Regions from separate parts of the Homo sapiens genome. Here regions 1, 2, 3, 4 and 5 are each linked to region 6. Evidence: promoter capture Hi-C in 16 types of primary human blood cells and fetal thymus (Javierre and others, 2016). All regions are on one chromosome and are shown on one strand. Each heading gives the region's core, a stretch centred on a gene start or on the middle of the fragment in contact. The rest is flanking DNA. Distances are from core to core; before and after follow the strand shown.

Region 1 (2,752 bases), core at 207-2,706, 520 kb before region 6:
CATCTTCCATCTGTTTTTCCTGGCAGGGGGGTCTGCTCTTAGACGCAGCTGAGAGGTGGTAGGTGGCAGCTCTAACTGCCATTAAGGAGAGAAGTGAAGATGTGATGACTGTATCTTCTGCTGAAAAATCAGTTTTGTGATCATTATAGTTTATTGGTCTTTGATCTCGAAGAATCTGATGCCTAACGTTTAATGAGTTATGAAGAATATGTCATGGGATTATAAAAGTACCTCTTGCCAGGAGTTCATTGCCAGCGTGGCCAACATGGTGAAACCCTGTCTTTACTAAAAATCCAAAAAAAATAGCTGGGCGTGGTGGTGGGTGCCTATAATCCCAGCTACTCGGGAGGCTGAGGGAGGAGAATCACTTGAACCCGGGAGGTGGAGGTTGCAGTGAGCCGAGATTGCGCCATTGCACTCCAGCCTGGGCAACAAGAGTGAAACTCTGTCTCAAAAAAAAAAAAAAACTTCTTGCTGTAAGATAATTTTGAATGAGAAAAATCACAGTTTATGTTCTTGTGTACTATCTTTTAATAATACCTTCAGCTGTTGAATTATATATTTGTTTAACTTGAGAATACCACGCATGTATCCTTAGATTAGTTCATAGAAAATTGTGTGGAAAATGACTAGTAACTTTTATGACTTTGTTACCCATATTAGCTTTAAATAATTATTGGCCTTATATAAGCATTAGACTATTTCATTCATGTAGATTTCTTTTTTTGTTGTGTCTGTATACTGGATTTATTATTGTTATTACCCTTTTCCTCATAATCTTAGGAACTTTTGTAAGACAGAAATAAAATGATTAATTCATATATGTAAGCCTCATTAAACATATGTTACATTGGAAAAGCACCCTTAAAAGAAGTTGTGTCCAATTATATCTTCCTCAGGGGATTTACGTAGTTCATCACATCTACAGTCTGTCCTGTGTGTAGCATCTCTCATTACCCACAGGAATTTAAACTAGTCATTGGCTTTAAAAAGAAATGAAAGTTTTCCTGTAAGGAAATACATTGGCTTGCTTTATTATTATTTTTTATATTTTTGGATAAAGGAGAAGCCAGAGGCTTGGCTACAACCATTACATTAGATTAGAGTTTCTGAATATTGTGGAATTAATTATTAAGATATAGTTTTTATTTCACTTGACCCTTCAGGATTTCACAAGCAAGTTCTTGTGTAAGTGATACAGAGAAACTCCTTATTGTTTTTTAAACTCATAGTGCCATTGAACAGCCATGCTGATATTTCAGAATACAATAGAGTCTCTGAAACTGTGAACATTAAAACAAAAAGTAAACAACAGTATAGCATGGTTATTTTGAAAACTGTTAGGTAGCATTCTGCTTTAATAATGGAAATAATTTTTTCTGTTCTGAGTTTTATGATATTACTTAATTTTATTGTTTATAACTTTTGAAATTTTTGAAATTATTGTCACCAGCTTTCCCAACTAGTTTGAGAAGTTAATGTAATTAGTTTTAGTTCCTTGAGATAAAATTGTTATACCTTTAAATTATTGTTTGTAGATTTTCTCACTTTTAATTTACAGGAAAAAAATTCTGCAGGCTTCTTTTGCTTCTCACTGTTGCCCAAACTTTTTTTCTCTCCTGAAGTTGTGTTGTACATATAGAGATAACTCATAGTTTTCAATAAACATAGTATTGAGTTTCATGCAATGGAGTTGAAGATAAATCACTATGTAGATAGCTGAGGTGATGACGAGAGGTACCATATATAACTGACATGCTTACCAGTGTAGTCTCACTCTTCTGATCTCTCCACAGTACTCTTATGTGAAATCACCTCAGCATTGAAATCTGTGGTTTGACTTGTTTCTTTGGTGATTTTCTCTTTTTTCTGGGGAGTGTAATATTCTTTAACTTTACTTTTACTTTGAAGTTGACCGTGCTGACAGAACTCCTGAAATCTGAATTCAGAATACCAGAATCAACTCAAAGGACTTTATCTATAACTAAATCTATTTAATTATTGCTTTTTGTACCAGAGGGATAACTTAGGAGTGGCATATAGGTATAAATGTATACTCTTTTTAAATTTCAAAATTAATATTAGTGTTCCAAAGACATTTTTATGATGTATACTCATTCTTCCATATTTTTCTGTCTTAATTTTCTGTTACCAGCTAATAAGGCAGTGGATTTTACAACAGTCAAATTCTTGCTTCAGGATTCTAGAAGTTTGTTACATGCTTTCAGTACAAGGTCAAATTATGATGGTATTCTTCCACAGACCTTTGCTCAAGTAAACAACCTCCTTCAGACATTTGCAGAGGTAAGATGCCTTTGGAATGCCAGTTAGAGTAGCTAATTATACATGTTCTGAAAATGTGTTTAGCAGACAACAGTAGGTAAAGGATAATTTAATTCTAACTTATTCTAACATACTAAAGGCGTTAAGTAAATGTTAAGTGAATTGAATACAGAGTAAGCAACTCTAACAAGTTATAAAACCCATACCTCCTTTTATGGAAGCAGTGTCACAGCAGTTGTTCTTATTTTATATTATTTTCACTTATGGATGGAAGAAAGCTATGCATGCTATTTGACTGTTCATTTACAGTGCCCTAGGCCAGTGGATCTCACATACATCAAAAATACCTAGGAAATTGTTTTAAACATACAGATGTCAACACTGTCTGAAACCCTATTGAATCTATTTTTTGACAGTGTTACTTGGTAATGTTGTTGTCCTTGTTTTACTTTTTATTTTGAAATAATTT
Region 2 (2,700 bases), core at 39-2,538, 570 kb after region 6:
AGGTGCCTTGCTTTTAACTGACAGATTAAAAGGCAGTTGGTCATATTACTAATAAAAGCAAAATCCAGATACTTGTAGACTAGTAAATAGCACTTCTTGCTGTGTTTAGACTGGTGGTTCTTTTTTGTTTTAAATCACAGTTGGTGTGATCAAACTTTCTATTTGATTTATAGAACATTCTGTTTCTGAAAATCAAGAGTCCTCCTCCTCCTCCTCCTCTTCCTCTTCTTCTTCAACAATTCGGAAAATCAAGTCTTCCAAAAATTCAGCTGCTAATAGAGAATTACAGAAGAAACTCAAAGGTTTGAGCATTGATAAAGATCAAAGACTGTATCAATGCCATATTAACAATGATTATATTTAAAAGTAATGCGTGTTGGCAGAATGAGGACATCTTAATATGGGGGGGAATATAACTTTATGAATATTATCTTAGAAAGTACCAAATGAATACTTCCTACAGGAAATTAGTGCCAAGCGGCTAAGAAGCCACTCTAAAAGCAAAGGATAAGAAGATGCTGTAGCAGGACTGTGGAACCACAAGATGGCACCAGAGATGATTATTGATGGCTTTCTACTGTCATTCTTGTTTACTTGACATCATTTTGCTTCTTCTCCTTCATCTTCCTTGCATTTTCATTTTCCCTTCCCCAGCTTTATTTTAACAAACATTTATATACTATTGTTCTAAGTGTTTTACAAGTATTAACTCATTAAATTCTTACAAACCTCTATGGAAAAAATATTATCCATATTTTACAAATCCTCTTTATTTTCCTAGTAACTTATATATTATATCTGGCTGACTTTTCCTCTAGTAGAGACTGTGCTACAGAATAGGCTATTATTGCCTGAAAAGAGATTTCCTTTGCTGTTTATTATTTCCTGAAGTTCTGGTTCTAAATATATATTCTCTTTCTCCAGGAAATACTGGATTTTTGGATAAGGGAGTTTTAAAGAACTCTAAGAGGTTGTGATTTCCTCCGAAGCATTCGCTCTAAATAAATAGCCAGGCATTTAATCTTTTAGTCACCCAGAAAATCGTGCAGGAAGCCACCCTTGGGCTTTGTAGTCCACATGTGGGGCAGCTGCTATGGGAAAGCCTTGATAAATACTGTCTTTTTGCTGCCCATCACACCCTAAGCTCCTCCTTATGTCCCCTGGGACCTGCAAGGTTAGCTGCGCAGAAGAAAAGGAGTGGCTAATAGCCCTATGTATGGGAACAAGGCTCAGCAGGGACTGTGGGGGTGACTGGGGCAGATTGCTCAGAGGTAGCTGTAGAGGCCTCTGAGATAATTGGTGCAGCAAGATGGTAGTACTAGGTTTCCAGGAGGAAGGAAGGGACACTGGGCACTGAAGAATAAGAGTACAAAAAGTAGGGGGTAAAGAACATTAATATAAACAGATGAATTAGTGTTATTTATCGTGTTGGTAATTTTGAACTTGCCACTGACTTCCATGTATTAATTGTATAGAGTTTTATTTGTGCTTTTTCATCCCTCATCTCATTTATTCCCTAAAACAGCCCAATAAGATAGGTTGAGTATTTGCCATTTTACAACAAATTAAAGGACATAGTAGAGATTAGCAATTTGCTTAGAAACACACAACTAGTCAATGATAAAGATGGGATCTTTATGTCACTATTAAAGAAAAAAAAATATTCTAAAATAACAAGATGTATATTTTTTCTCCAGTAAAAGATAACAAGAAGAACAGAACTAAAAAGAAACCTACCCCCAAACCACCAGTTGTAGATGAAGCTGGAAGTGGATTGGACAATGGTGACTTCAAGGTCACAACTCCTGACACGTCTACCACCCAACACAATAAAGTCAGCACATCTCCCAAGATCACAACAGCAAAACCAATAAATCCCAGACCCAGTCTTCCACCTAATTCTGATACATCTAAAGAGACGTCTTTGACAGTGAATAAAGAGACAACAGTTGAAACTAAAGAAACTACTACAACAAATAAACAGACTTCAACTGATGGAAAAGAGAAGACTACTTCCGCTAAAGAGACACAAAGTATAGAGAAAACATCTGCTAAAGATTTAGCACCCACATCTAAAGTGCTGGCTAAACCTACACCCAAAGCTGAAACTACAACCAAAGGCCCTGCTCTCACCACTCCCAAGGAGCCCACGCCCACCACTCCCAAGGAGCCTGCATCTACCACACCCAAAGAGCCCACACCTACCACCATCAAGTCTGCACCCACCACCCCCAAGGAGCCTGCACCCACCACCACCAAGTCTGCACCCACCACTCCCAAGGAGCCTGCACCCACCACCACCAAGGAGCCTGCACCCACCACTCCCAAGGAGCCTGCACCCACCACCACCAAGGAGCCTGCACCCACCACCACCAAGTCTGCACCCACCACTCCCAAGGAGCCTGCACCCACCACCCCCAAGAAGCCTGCCCCAACTACCCCCAAGGAGCCTGCACCCACCACTCCCAAGGAGCCTACACCCACCACTCCCAAGGAGCCTGCACCCACCACCAAGGAGCCTGCACCCACCACTCCCAAAGAGCCTGCACCCACTGCCCCCAAGAAGCCTGCCCCAACTACCCCCAAGGAGCCTGCACCCACCACTCCCAAGGAGCCTGCACCCACCACCACCAAGGAGCCTTCACCCACCACTCCCAAGGAGCCTGCACCCACCACCACCAAGTCTGCACCCACCACTAC
Region 3 (2,916 bases), core at 378-2,877, 550 kb after region 6:
CTGTCCCAAGATGGAGTGCAGAGGAGACTTGCTTGCAGAAGATTCTTCTGCTTGGAATACCAGCACTTGAAGACTGTCTTCAGGTTTCTTTCCCCTCCTGTTGGAAATGGGCTCTGCTTCTGTGTCCAGGGATTGTGACAAGTAAATATCCTCTATATCTTTACAAAAATAATGATGGAAATGGTACTTTAAAAAAATGTAATACCACGTGGAATAGTATCATTGAAACTGCTCATCACATTTTAAGGTTTCCAAAACGGGGAAGTTGAGGATCAGTTTCGGATAACTAAGCTACTCACAGCTTGATGTAAGGGGATTTTCCACTCAGCAGCCTCTTTTTACCAAGTGCCACAGGCACTTCATAAAATTACTCACCAGAGATGGGAGTGTTTTTCTATTTTATCTCAAGGGTGTACTCCAGAAGAAAATTCAATTTATGTTTTACTAGTTTTGTAAGATTTCTGTTTTAGTCAGGCTATGCTAACTGCCATTTAAGAAAAAAATAACTCCTCTCATATTTTTAATACACAATTAAAGTTTATTTATGCTTCATGGCACAGTCCAATGCAGGGAAGAGGAGAGGGGAGCCTCTGGTTGATGGTCATCCATGGATCCAGACTTCTCCCATGAAGTGGCTCTGCCATCATCTAGGGCACTGGAGTCCTCCACTTCATCCAAAATAAAAGAGGTGTACATCACTTCTGCCCACAATCCATTACACAATCATGTGGCCCCCGCCCCAATTATATAGAATGCTGGTAAATGCAATCCAACTGTGTGCCCAGGACAAAGAGAACACAAGCTTTCTCTTCCTCAATTTCCATGCTAAAACTTAAACTAACAGATGCTACATTTTAAATTTATTTCAGTGATGTTTCTGTGACAGTTGTTTCCTTACTCTTTCCTCCCCAGGTTTGTTTGTAGGCTATCATTTGGATATTGATTGGAGATTGTCCTAATTTTTACATTCATATCATTAACATGTTTAATCTACTTGCTGTCTTAGTCAATTTGAGATGTTATAACAAAGTACTGTATATTGGGTGGCATATAAACGATAGAAATTTATTTCTCACAGCTCTGGAAGCTGGAAGTTTCCAATGAGGGTGCCAGTAGAGTTGGCCTCTGGTGAGGGACCTCTTCCAAGCTGCAGACTACTGACTTCTTTTTGTATCTTTAGATGGTGGGAGCAGGGGTAGAGAACTCTCTGAGGTCTCTTTTCCATTAGTGGGCACACTAATCCCATTCATAAGAGCTCCACCATCACAACCTAAATTACCTCCAAAGGCCCCAGCTCCCAATACCATTATACTGGGAGTTAGGATTTCAGCATATGAATTTGGAGGGGGGACATGAACATTGAATCCATTATATTTGCTTTCTCAAAAACCACTGTTGGTACAAATTTTATATGACAGACAAGAAGATGAATGGTATTAATAAAACGTATCTGAACATATCTCCTACGTCTATTTTATTTCCTCCCAGAGAATTTATTTTATTGAAGCATTTGAATTACACACTACTTTATAGAACAATTATGTGACTCAAGAGACTCTTATTAGATCTAAGCCATAAATTGAGTTTTAAACTTTATAGTGGCCAATATGAATAGTTAAGTGTTATTTTATCATATATACATCCTAATTATTTATCATTATAATCACTGTCATAAAATATTTGGGTCAGCTATGGAGAATGGAGGAGAGAACCAGTGAGTTAGCAGGTGTTCCTGAAAAACAACAACAAAAATCCCCTTTGTACTTCTTCAGAAATTGTCACAAAAGTTAAAAAACATAAAAATGCTGTATTTACAGATTATAATTATTGTTTAAAAACATTGAAGGTGCTCAGCTTTATTCACATCAAGGTTTGATCTGGGGGTTGGATGGGGTAGAGGGGCAAGTAGAGAGAATCTAGTTGAGATTGAGATTCTGTGATATTTTATGATATACCAGTGAACTGTTGTGATTCCAACCTGGATCTTTCCTTCTCTACCATTTTCTATGACAGAATGCCATACTCTTCCATATGATAATCTGTTAAGTCTCTGAAGATAGTCATTTTACCATGAAATTTGACGGCACACCAAATAACTCTTCAACTCATGTAATTAAAAGAACACCAATAATAAAAGCTAACTTTTGCTGAGTATATATTATGCAGCTAGTATTCTTCTAAGTGCTTTAGATGCATTAACCTGTGTGGATCATTACAACATCCTTCCACAATAGGTATTCTTGGCCAGAGTGGCTACATAATTTACCTAGGTTCACATAGCTAGTGATTGACAAAGCCTACACTTGAGTTACTTTGTTATATGATTTTCCATATAATAGTCTTTTTACCCACAGGAGAATTTTTCAACAGCTTTCAAAGTTTATGATAGTACACCAATTAGATTATGAATACACATTTTCCCATTAGTCCATGGTATATCAAAATGCCTTTTTAAAGCTTGTGTGGAACAAGACAAATGCCTCGTGTTATTCTGTTGATTTTTACTAAATATGCTGAAATATTAGGTATCATACAGTATATTTAAATTTATACACTGTTCTATTGTATCTGGATTTGCCTCCAAACTTTATATTCCTGTGCCCTATTTTATGATGATATAAGTAATAGTCTAGTAGTCAAGAAACTACTCACATCTACTAAATCTCTGCTTAATGTTGAATTGGTCCAAAGCAAGGCATGGCTCCCTTTCCCAGAGTTTAAAATCAAGATGTGAAGCCTAGCTTAGGCTTCATGATAAAGGTTGAAGCTATGATAAAGGTTGATGCAATTGCAGTTATGAGTTTCCATGCTGTTTTTTTAAATATATTTTTCTCATCCTTAATCAGATAATTTTTTTAATATCTAAAAAAGAAAAGGAAAAGTATTAAAAAATTCAGATTACATATGAGAAAAAAT
Region 4 (2,908 bases), core at 409-2,908, 550 kb before region 6:
GTTTGTTTGTGGGTTTTTCTTTTGTTTTTGTTTTTTTGAGACGGAGTGTCCTTCTGTCATCCAGGCTGGAATTGGAGCTATCTCCACTCACTGCAACCTGTGCCTCCCAGGTTCAAGCAATTCTCCTGCCTCAGCCTCCTGAGTAGCTGGGACTACAGGCGTGTGCCACCATGCCTGGCTAATTTTTAGTAGAGCTGGAGTTCCACTGTGTTGGCCAGGCTGATCTCGAACTCCTGACCTCAGGTGATTGGCCCGCCTCGGCCTCTCAAAGTGCTGGGATTACAGGCGTGAGCCACCAAGCCCAGCATGTATTTTCTTTTACACATATTCATCTTTCAATTATATTCACTCAGGATATGTTAAAATTAGCTTATAATTACTAAGTGCACAACTACCGGTGATCCATGACAGAAGTTAGAAACATAATTACTCCCCAGGCAAGTCAGTTCATAATTTAAAATCCACCTACAAGCAATTTATAGTATTCTACTGGTGGGTGATTAAACATTGATTACTATTCTTTCTCTTAAGAATCGAAGTAAAAGCAATTTTGTTTTTATTGTCTAAAGGACTTCTCTTAAGAATGCTCTCAAAAACATTCTCCATGGCTGGTTTTTCACAGTCTTGGCCCCAGGTTTCCCGTGTATTTCTGCTTTGCCAACCCTTACCTTCTCTGCCCACTTTGACTTAGACGATTCTCCACCCCACTCCCACTCCAAACAGGGGTTGCAATTCCTATCCAGAGGACCTTAATTGATTGGGGAGAAATTTACTTGGCAACAAGGATACGGGCCGGATAGATATCAGCTTGAGAGTCTAGCCAACTGTGTAAATCTCTGATACAGTTAACAAGACAAAGAGGCGTTTTAAATTTAATTGAATTTTCAATGCTTCTGTAATATCAAAATTTTAGTCATTATATAAGTCTGTTATCAAGTGTCATGAAATATTTGCTCTTTTTCTTTAGCAAATAATACTTCAGACAGAAAGCTTCTAATTGTTATTGACACAAATATTCTGATGAATCATCTCAAATTTGTTAGAATTTTGAAGACAACAGAAGTACCAGGTATTTACAGAACATATTTAAAGATTCTGATTTTCTTCCTTGAGTTGATATTTTATATTAACAATGATGGGCTTTTTTTGCCATGAACATGTCTCCATTTAGATATGCTATATATTAAGCATATTCAGTGTTATAAGTTTATAAAAGCCTTTACAGGTTAAACTAGCAATCTGAACTCACTCTTTTTTTGATCTCCAAGAGTAATTATTTTTTTAACATTCTTTTGACACGTTATTTTCTTTTTAATTTCCATTTTATAATATATTGTCTCTCAATTTATTGTGAATTTCCTAAAGGTAGGGACTGTGTGCTTTAAAACTTTTACCTCTTGGACAGCAATTCCATTTAGTAGCTCAATAAATGTTTGTTAAATTCTAAGAAATCTTTTTATTTTTTAGGTTTTGACAAACTTGTGTTAATAATTCCCTGGGTCGTTATGCAAGAGCTAGATCGTATGAAGGAAGGAAAACTACTAAAACGTGCCCAGCACAAAGCTATACCTGCAGTTCATTTCATCAACGACAGTCTCAAAAATCAAGATAGAAAGCTATGGGGTCAGTCAATACAACTTGCATCCCAAAAACATTGTAAGTATTGTTCTCTCAGAGTGCCTCCTGATTAATACTTGTTTGGGTGCAGACTCATTATTGGAGGGAAATGGTGCAAAACTTTTAAAACATTTAAACCCATTGGAATGTGAAATGGAAGGGGCATTGTGATGGTTTGTGGCTTAGTTTAGGAGTCTTTGACTTTTATTTTTCTGCTTCTCCTAGACGTTTTTACATTATGTCTATATTTCACAGATAGTGACTGTATAGTTGTGTATGCATAATTATCTATATCCCAGAACCTTGGACTCCTTTTTTAAAAATACCATTGCTGAGTGATGAAGTCTGTAAGTGATCTAGGTTTCTAGTCTGTTAATATCACCATATGCAGTTAATGTACTGTGGAGACGATGTTGCTTTCCTGTGGTTTGTCAGAATCGGTAATAATGAATGAGGTGTTTTTACAATAAAGTAGTGTATAGATTTTCCCCTCATTTAATTTTTTTCAATATTAGTTTCTATTAAGGCATTTAAAAAATTGCTTTAGTCTTAGAAGCTAAGGATGTTCTTTATGTTTTATATAATTTGCTGGAAAAATATCTATATATAAAGGAACACTTATTTCTGTGGAGTTTATACATATATATTTAGAAGATTTATTTCATTCTTTCAGAATTTGTTTCTTCCCAGCTCAGAATTATTTATATATGTAAGCTTACATTATTTTAAATACCACGGATTTGTACTGTCCACTGCACCCATATTCACCGTAAGATTTGAAAGAATTCATCTTAAGAGGAATCCAATTATGGTATTAACTATGAGAAGGCTTTAAAAGCCATGATTAGATTCATCTTAAGATGAATTACTTTAGTCTAAAATTTTTGTTTAGTCTTAAAATTTTGAAGAAAAAGGGTCTCTACCATTCATTCATTGTCTAAACAAATATTTATTAGTTCTTAGTATATTCCAGATATAATGCTTATGAATTTTGAGTGAAGATGGTCCATGTCAAGTAGCTTTAGTTGACTATAATTTTAGCCTTGTCCTTAACTATTTGCAAAATTATATTTATTTGATATAGTATTGATCTATTATAGTGAGAGGAACATAGGATTTGAAATATGATCAACCTGGGTTTATAGCATAACCCGGGGGAAGTTAAAGGTGAAGAAACTGAATAAATGAAATGAGAGGAAATAAATTCCACGTCATAAAATGGTTGTGAAGATTGGTTGAGTTAATATATTAAACTAATAGCTTATGGTTCAGAATAGGCAGTAATTCTCTT
Region 5 (2,723 bases), core at 30-2,529, 520 kb after region 6:
TTGCTTTTTCACCCACACTGGAGTGCAACCAGCTCACTGCAACCTCTATCTCCCGGGTTCAAGCGATTCTCCTGCCTCACCCTCCTGAGTAGCTGGGATTACATGCACCCGCCACCATGCCCGGCTAATTTTTGTATTTTTAGTAGAGACAGGGTTTCACCTTCTGTCTTCTACAATATCAACCTTGAAATTGTTTTTCCTCAATGCCCTTTATAATCCTATTTTCTCAACTGCCTAGTATATACGTCTGCTACAATACCAAGACCCAAAATATTTTGATTCCCAAATCGCACACCGTATGTTGTCATATCCATAGGAGTGTTCCCTGTGCTTCCTTCTCTCATAGCTGCATCAAACATGTTTACTTACCTATGTCAAAGAATTATTGATTATTGATATTCAAGGCACTGTGGTAGGGACAGGAGAGTCAGGGATAAAGAAAATAGTCTCTATCTGAAGACCCCTTGAGGAATTAAAGCTTTTATAGCTAATACTCAATGTTTTTTAATTACATGAATAAATACATTTATTTGGAAACTAAATAGAATCACTATAATCACAGAGTTACTCGTAAAAACTGAACTTTGGTGATTATAAGACTGCCAGAATCACTTACTGTTTGTTCTAGCCAATACCTGGAGATTTGGCCTCTGTTTCCCCATCTCTGTGGGAGAGCAGGAGCCACATTTCAACAAGTGCCAGTTAGCAAACCCAGATGGGTTTCACATGCACCAACCCCCCTTCCCACTTACTGTAATTGTTCACTTCCCTAATTCTGCTAAACCCCTGACATTCCCTCTCCCTATTCCCTCATTCTTTCTTTAAAATACCCAATCACCCCTGCATACATCGGAATGGAGCTGGGCTCTTTCCCCAACACTCAGTGGTTATTGAATAAAATCTGTATTCACTGCTTTAATGTCCAGCTGTGTTTATTTTTGACAGTGGTTCAATATAAAAATCATGAGGGTCCTTACAAGAACAGTGAGGCAGGAAGGTCAAAGAACAGATGTGATGACTGAAGCAGAGGTCAGAGTGGATGCAGCCAGGAGGTGAGGAATGTAGGCAGCTCTAGAAACTGGAAAAGGCATGGAAACTTTTCTCCCCCAGAGCCTGAAGAGGGAACTCAACCCTGCAGACACCTTGATGTTCGCCCTAGAAGATCCATTTCTGACCTCTGACCTTCAAAACGTCAATTTACTAAGATAATAAATTTGCATTATTTTAAGCCAATAAATTTGTGGTAATTTGTTACAACAGCAATAGGAAACTAACACACCACCCATGCTACATGATTAGCTCAACAAAAATATCATATAACCACCCACAAGATAAGATTAAATTGGACTTTGGTGACCATGGAAGACCATGAACATGTAGCGGAGTGGCATCAACTTTTTTTAAAAAGAATATGTCTTCGAGCAGATCCATGATTCAAAATCAAATACCTTTCTTTGGGAACGTGTAATACACATCAAATGCTAGAGCCCTTACAAAAGACTGAGTAGACCTTCTTGCCAAGCATTTAAAAGTGTTAAATCATGATCACTTTCCACAGCACTTTTAACCAGCCTTATTCATCTTTACTGAACTTCATTCATTTCACAGTTTTTAAAGGAAAAATTTTGGCTATAGGATAATGCACTCAATTAGCTCTGCTCATAGGAACAGAATAACACAATTACCTACTGTAAAACCACTACCAGCTTCTTATGAAACCTTCAAAAATTTGCTCATATTTGCTTGGTGTGCTTACCCCGAAGGGAAACAATGATGGGCTATTCTCCCAGAAACAGTGTAGAAATCGGGCAGGTAGAGGTCAGCAATTACATGTTGCCTCTATGTGGAGACCAGATGTGATTTCTATTTGGTAAATTAAGTTTCTCTCTCTGGAGTTTAGAGTGACTAAAGATGGTTCAATTTCAAACTGCTTTTTATTGTTGTTTCTTTGTCTTTAATCCCAAGAGGCAAAAATATAACCAATTTCACCCCAGTTTCTTTCCTATTTTTTAACTTACTGTTTTGATAGCTTCCCATAGTTAATGTCTTTCTTAATATTATGTAAAATATGCCTCTGTTCCAAGCTTCCCCAGTCATTAAGATGGCTCTTAACATTCCCGTTAATATGATATTTCTCTAATGTCCTTAACTGTATACTTTATAATCTCTAATAGTAATACCGGTTTCTCACAAAGCCGTTTCCCTGAGGCACACTTAATATAATCAGATTGGGCCCATTTGTATTCTGCTGCATTTTTGCCTTCCACATCTAAGGAAATAACTGGAAAATCACTTATATTCAGGGCACTTCCTGATGTTGGTCTAGGTTCAGGGATATTAACAATTCAAACTGCATGAACACTTGCAGTAAGGGAAATGGAAATTATATTTTTCTGGGAACTCATGTTTTGTCACCATTAAATCATACTATGAAATGATTTCAGGTTGGAAAGATTCCATTTCTGCTACGTTGGCTTCACAGCTTCAACTGGGCATTTTCCTTCTAACTATAAACATCCTTTAGCTTAGTTTAAATTTAAATTAATTTCAGTGGGAAAGCAGGTAAAGAAAAATATTATGTTTAAACTGCAAGTTTGGAAGAGACTCTGTTGTTATGTCCCTTTGCAGATTTTGTAATGGCAAAATTGTATTGACTCTGCAAACAACTCTCCTTTTTAACAGATGTGCATGATACACATGGTTTAGGAAAGGAAACCAATTAC
Region 6 (2,700 bases), core at 144-2,643:
GAATGAAATCCTTTTTAAATAAACAACGGAATGGGAGACTCAAATAGCATTCTCTAAATACTGCTTGAGAAGGAAGTACCTTCCCCCTTTCCTCTCATATTCCCACTCAGCCCAAATGGCCTGTCTGCTTCCTTTAAGTGACATGACTTATAGGTATCATAAACTCGGGTTCCACAGCCGCTGGGACTGAAAGAGAAGACAGTTGTAGATTACAAAAGGTTGGTGGGAGCTAACTCTTCCTCAGGCTGCATCTCCGTTGGGTGGGCGGTCTAATATACATCCAAACAGAGATCAAGATGCCTGTTTGCCCCTCTTTAAATGCTGGGATCTGGACAACAACTCCTTTTCCAGGAAGGAAATGCGTTTTTATTAAAATGACATAAAGAATCCTTAGTTCATGGTAGACTTTCTTTGCTTATCCTCTTATCTCTGTTATTAGTACTATAACGTATATAGCAATCACAACACGGAAAAACGTTGGCATGTCTTCCAGGGTGAGGTTTCCTTCTTGACTGGCAAGAAAATGCCATAGAGGGGAGCACCTTTCCAATAGATCTTTGGCTGAGACCTGAGGCATGACTGTTCCAGGGGAGGAAATCTGAAACGGGGATATTATTCTGCCTTACTATGCTGAGCGTAGGATTCAAACTGCTCAGCAAATGTGAATCTTGATAATACAATTAAAAAATCAATTTTCTCTTTAATATGAATTTTATGTCTCATCTTTCCCCACACCTCTCTCGCCCCTCCTCCTTGTCCTTTCTACGGGGCTTCCATCCTGTATTCACATTCCCCTCTACAGTTAGTGACTACCTAGTTCTTGTCTCTCATTTCCCTCAGCAGCCCCTTTCCTCTTCCTGGGCTTCTTGCCCCTTCAGCGTTGTCCTCCCTTCCTTCCCTGCAGTCCAGAGTCTCAGAGGAGATCAAAGAGCGATAGTGTGGCTGCCTCGCAGCTGAGAGAATTTTCCAGCTCCCCCTCCTGGCTGGGCCGAGTTGTGGGCTGAGAGGCAGGAGGCTGGGCTGGGGCGTCTTGACTTTTGGGGGGAATTAGGAAAGAGGTGTCTAAAGCCGCGTTGTACACAATAGAAAAACAAAATTCCCTTTGTGCTAGTGTGGTGTCCCTCGGTTTGGGTCTTTGCCACACATTCTTGAAAGCCATTGTTTACACTAGCGTTTTGCAGGTTAGGAACGGTGCCGGTGGGAACCGAGCTGACACCGTAAGCGCTTCCCTGGGACTGAATTGACCCTACAATCAGTGGAGGGAAAAGTCACCCTCCGGGGGGGCCTCCAGAGCAAAGGAGGGAGGACGGCAACTGGCCAATCAGGAGGCGAGGCCGAGCCAGGCTTCCCCTCGTCGCTCGTGAGCTGCAAACAGTGGAAAGTTGGGAACCTCAGTCGCTGGCCCAGGCGGAGAGCAGCGGCGGCGGCGAGGGCAGCGGGATTCGGGCCGCGGCGCCGCAGGCTCAGAGCTGCCCCCGGGGCATGGACCCGACGCGCCGCCCGCACTCCGCCACAGGCTGTCCAGGGCCCGCGGGCAGATAGCAGTCCAGGAGGAAGCCGCATCCAGACAAAAGCTGCCGCATCCCTGCCCTGCCCAACCCCTGGAGGGATTCGAGTTTGGTGCTTGTCCCCGTCTGATTCTCAGCGCCAAACTTTTTGCTAGTTCAGAGATTCCAAGAGTCTGATGAGTTACTCTGAGAGGAAACCCTCTGCCTGTTGTTGAGGAGGACTGAGCACAGTGCTTAGGCGCTGAGGGGGAAAAAGAGGGGGAAAAAAAAGAAAATGATTTCCTGGGAAGTTGTCCATACAGTATTCCTGTTTGCTCTTCTTTATTCTTCCCTAGCTCAAGATGCGAGCCCCCAGTCAGAGATCAGAGCTGAGGAAATTCCCGAGGGGGCCTCCACGTTGGCTTTTGTGTTTGATGTGACTGGTTCTATGTATGATGATTTAGTTCAGGTGATTGAAGGGGCTTCCAAAATTTTGGAGACGTCTTTGAAAAGACCTAAAAGACCTCTTTTCAACTTTGCGTTGGTGCCTTTCCATGATCCAGGTAAGGGAAATATTTATACTTTGTCTTTGCTATGTCTCATGATTACATTATTTCTCATGCTGTGAATGAAATTGTTTGTCAGGAAGTTTCAAAACCATTTTAAAAAAATGTGCAGCTGAAAATAGTTGTAACAAAGAATTACTTGCTGGCGTCTGGGTTTGCTCATTGATACCTACTTAAGTCTCAGCCCTGGTGGAGATGGCTTGTTTAGGGAACTTGTACTGTGGTCCTCAAACCTGGAAATGTGGAGTTACGAAAAACAAAACCAAAAATCTTGGGCAACGACATCAAAATCACTTAACTCACTTAGATTTTAGAACTAAAGCATGTTTAATTACGAAGGCAGACTTGGACACGAATTTATAGCAGCGAAGCTCTAGGGGCTAACATCCAGATTGAAAGCACACTCTGAGGGTAACTCTCATTTAAGAGGGGAAAAAACCTGTTGTGTGAGACACAAGGAAGCCTGTAAGTAGTAACTACTAGTGGAACTGAAGACATGAAAAGAAAAGAGAGAAACCAATCATTTCTTAACTGAATCTATTCATCTTTGCACCAGGGCATCATTAGATAGGTTCACAGATGGGTATAAACATTACATCCATGTCTCCTGCGGTAGAATTGCTTGTAATTCGGAATGTCTGTGCTTT

What was found. Contacts are between HindIII fragments. The CHiCAGO score rates a contact against its expected background, and 5 or more counts as called.
Region 1: a contact is called between a fragment that was not itself captured here and the fragment with the promoter of HMCN1 in region 6, in 1 of 17 cell types (neutrophils). The highest score is 7.2, in neutrophils.
Region 2: a fragment that was not itself captured here is called in contact with the fragment with the promoter of HMCN1 in region 6 in 1 of 17 cell types (M1 macrophages); the score reaches 5.3 in M1 macrophages.
Region 3: a contact is called between a fragment that was not itself captured here and the fragment with the promoter of HMCN1 in region 6, in 1 of 17 cell types (M1 macrophages). The highest score is 5.7, in M1 macrophages.
Region 4: a fragment that was not itself captured here is called in contact with the fragment with the promoter of HMCN1 in region 6 in 4 of 17 cell types (monocytes, total CD8 T cells, neutrophils and 1 more); the score reaches 6.7 in monocytes.
Region 5: a fragment that was not itself captured here is called in contact with the fragment with the promoter of HMCN1 in region 6 in 1 of 17 cell types (endothelial precursors); the score reaches 6.1 in endothelial precursors.

What each region holds. Positions count from the first base shown.
Region 1 is chr1:185,212,352-185,215,103 of GRCh38, forward strand. It overlaps SWT1 (SWT1 RNA endoribonuclease homolog), which reads left to right. Exons shown (of 19, transcript NM_017673.7): 14 at 2,156-2,304. Among named protein-coding and RNA genes, the nearest start is that of SWT1, 57 kb to the left of the region's middle. The HindIII fragment of the contact is 9,885 bases long and covers 1-2,752 here.
Region 2 is chr1:186,304,621-186,307,320 of GRCh38, forward strand. It overlaps PRG4 (proteoglycan 4), which reads left to right. Exons shown (of 13, transcript NM_005807.6): 6 at 174-302; 7 at 1,698-2,700. Among named protein-coding and RNA genes, the nearest start is that of PRG4, 9.7 kb to the left of the region's middle. The HindIII fragment of the contact is 6,802 bases long and covers 1-2,700 here.
Region 3 is chr1:186,283,248-186,286,163 of GRCh38, forward strand. No RefSeq gene overlaps it. Among named protein-coding and RNA genes, the nearest start is that of PRG4, 12 kb to the right of the region's middle. The HindIII fragment of the contact is 1,655 bases long and covers 801-2,455 here.
Region 4 is chr1:185,183,276-185,186,183 of GRCh38, forward strand. SWT1 (SWT1 RNA endoribonuclease homolog) reads left to right here. Exons shown (of 19, transcript NM_017673.7): 8 at 968-1,069; 9 at 1,468-1,656. Among named protein-coding and RNA genes, the nearest start is that of SWT1, 28 kb to the left of the region's middle. The HindIII fragment of the contact is 1,341 bases long and covers 989-2,329 here.
Region 5 is chr1:186,253,178-186,255,900 of GRCh38, forward strand. No RefSeq gene overlaps it. Among named protein-coding and RNA genes, the nearest start is that of PRG4, 42 kb to the right of the region's middle. The HindIII fragment of the contact is 1,606 bases long and covers 477-2,082 here.
Region 6 is chr1:185,732,998-185,735,697 of GRCh38, forward strand. It overlaps HMCN1 (hemicentin 1), which reads left to right and starts at 1,394. Exons shown (of 107, transcript NM_031935.3): 1 at 1,394-2,050. The coding sequence starts at 1,783. The HindIII fragment of the contact is 13,332 bases long and covers 1-2,700 here.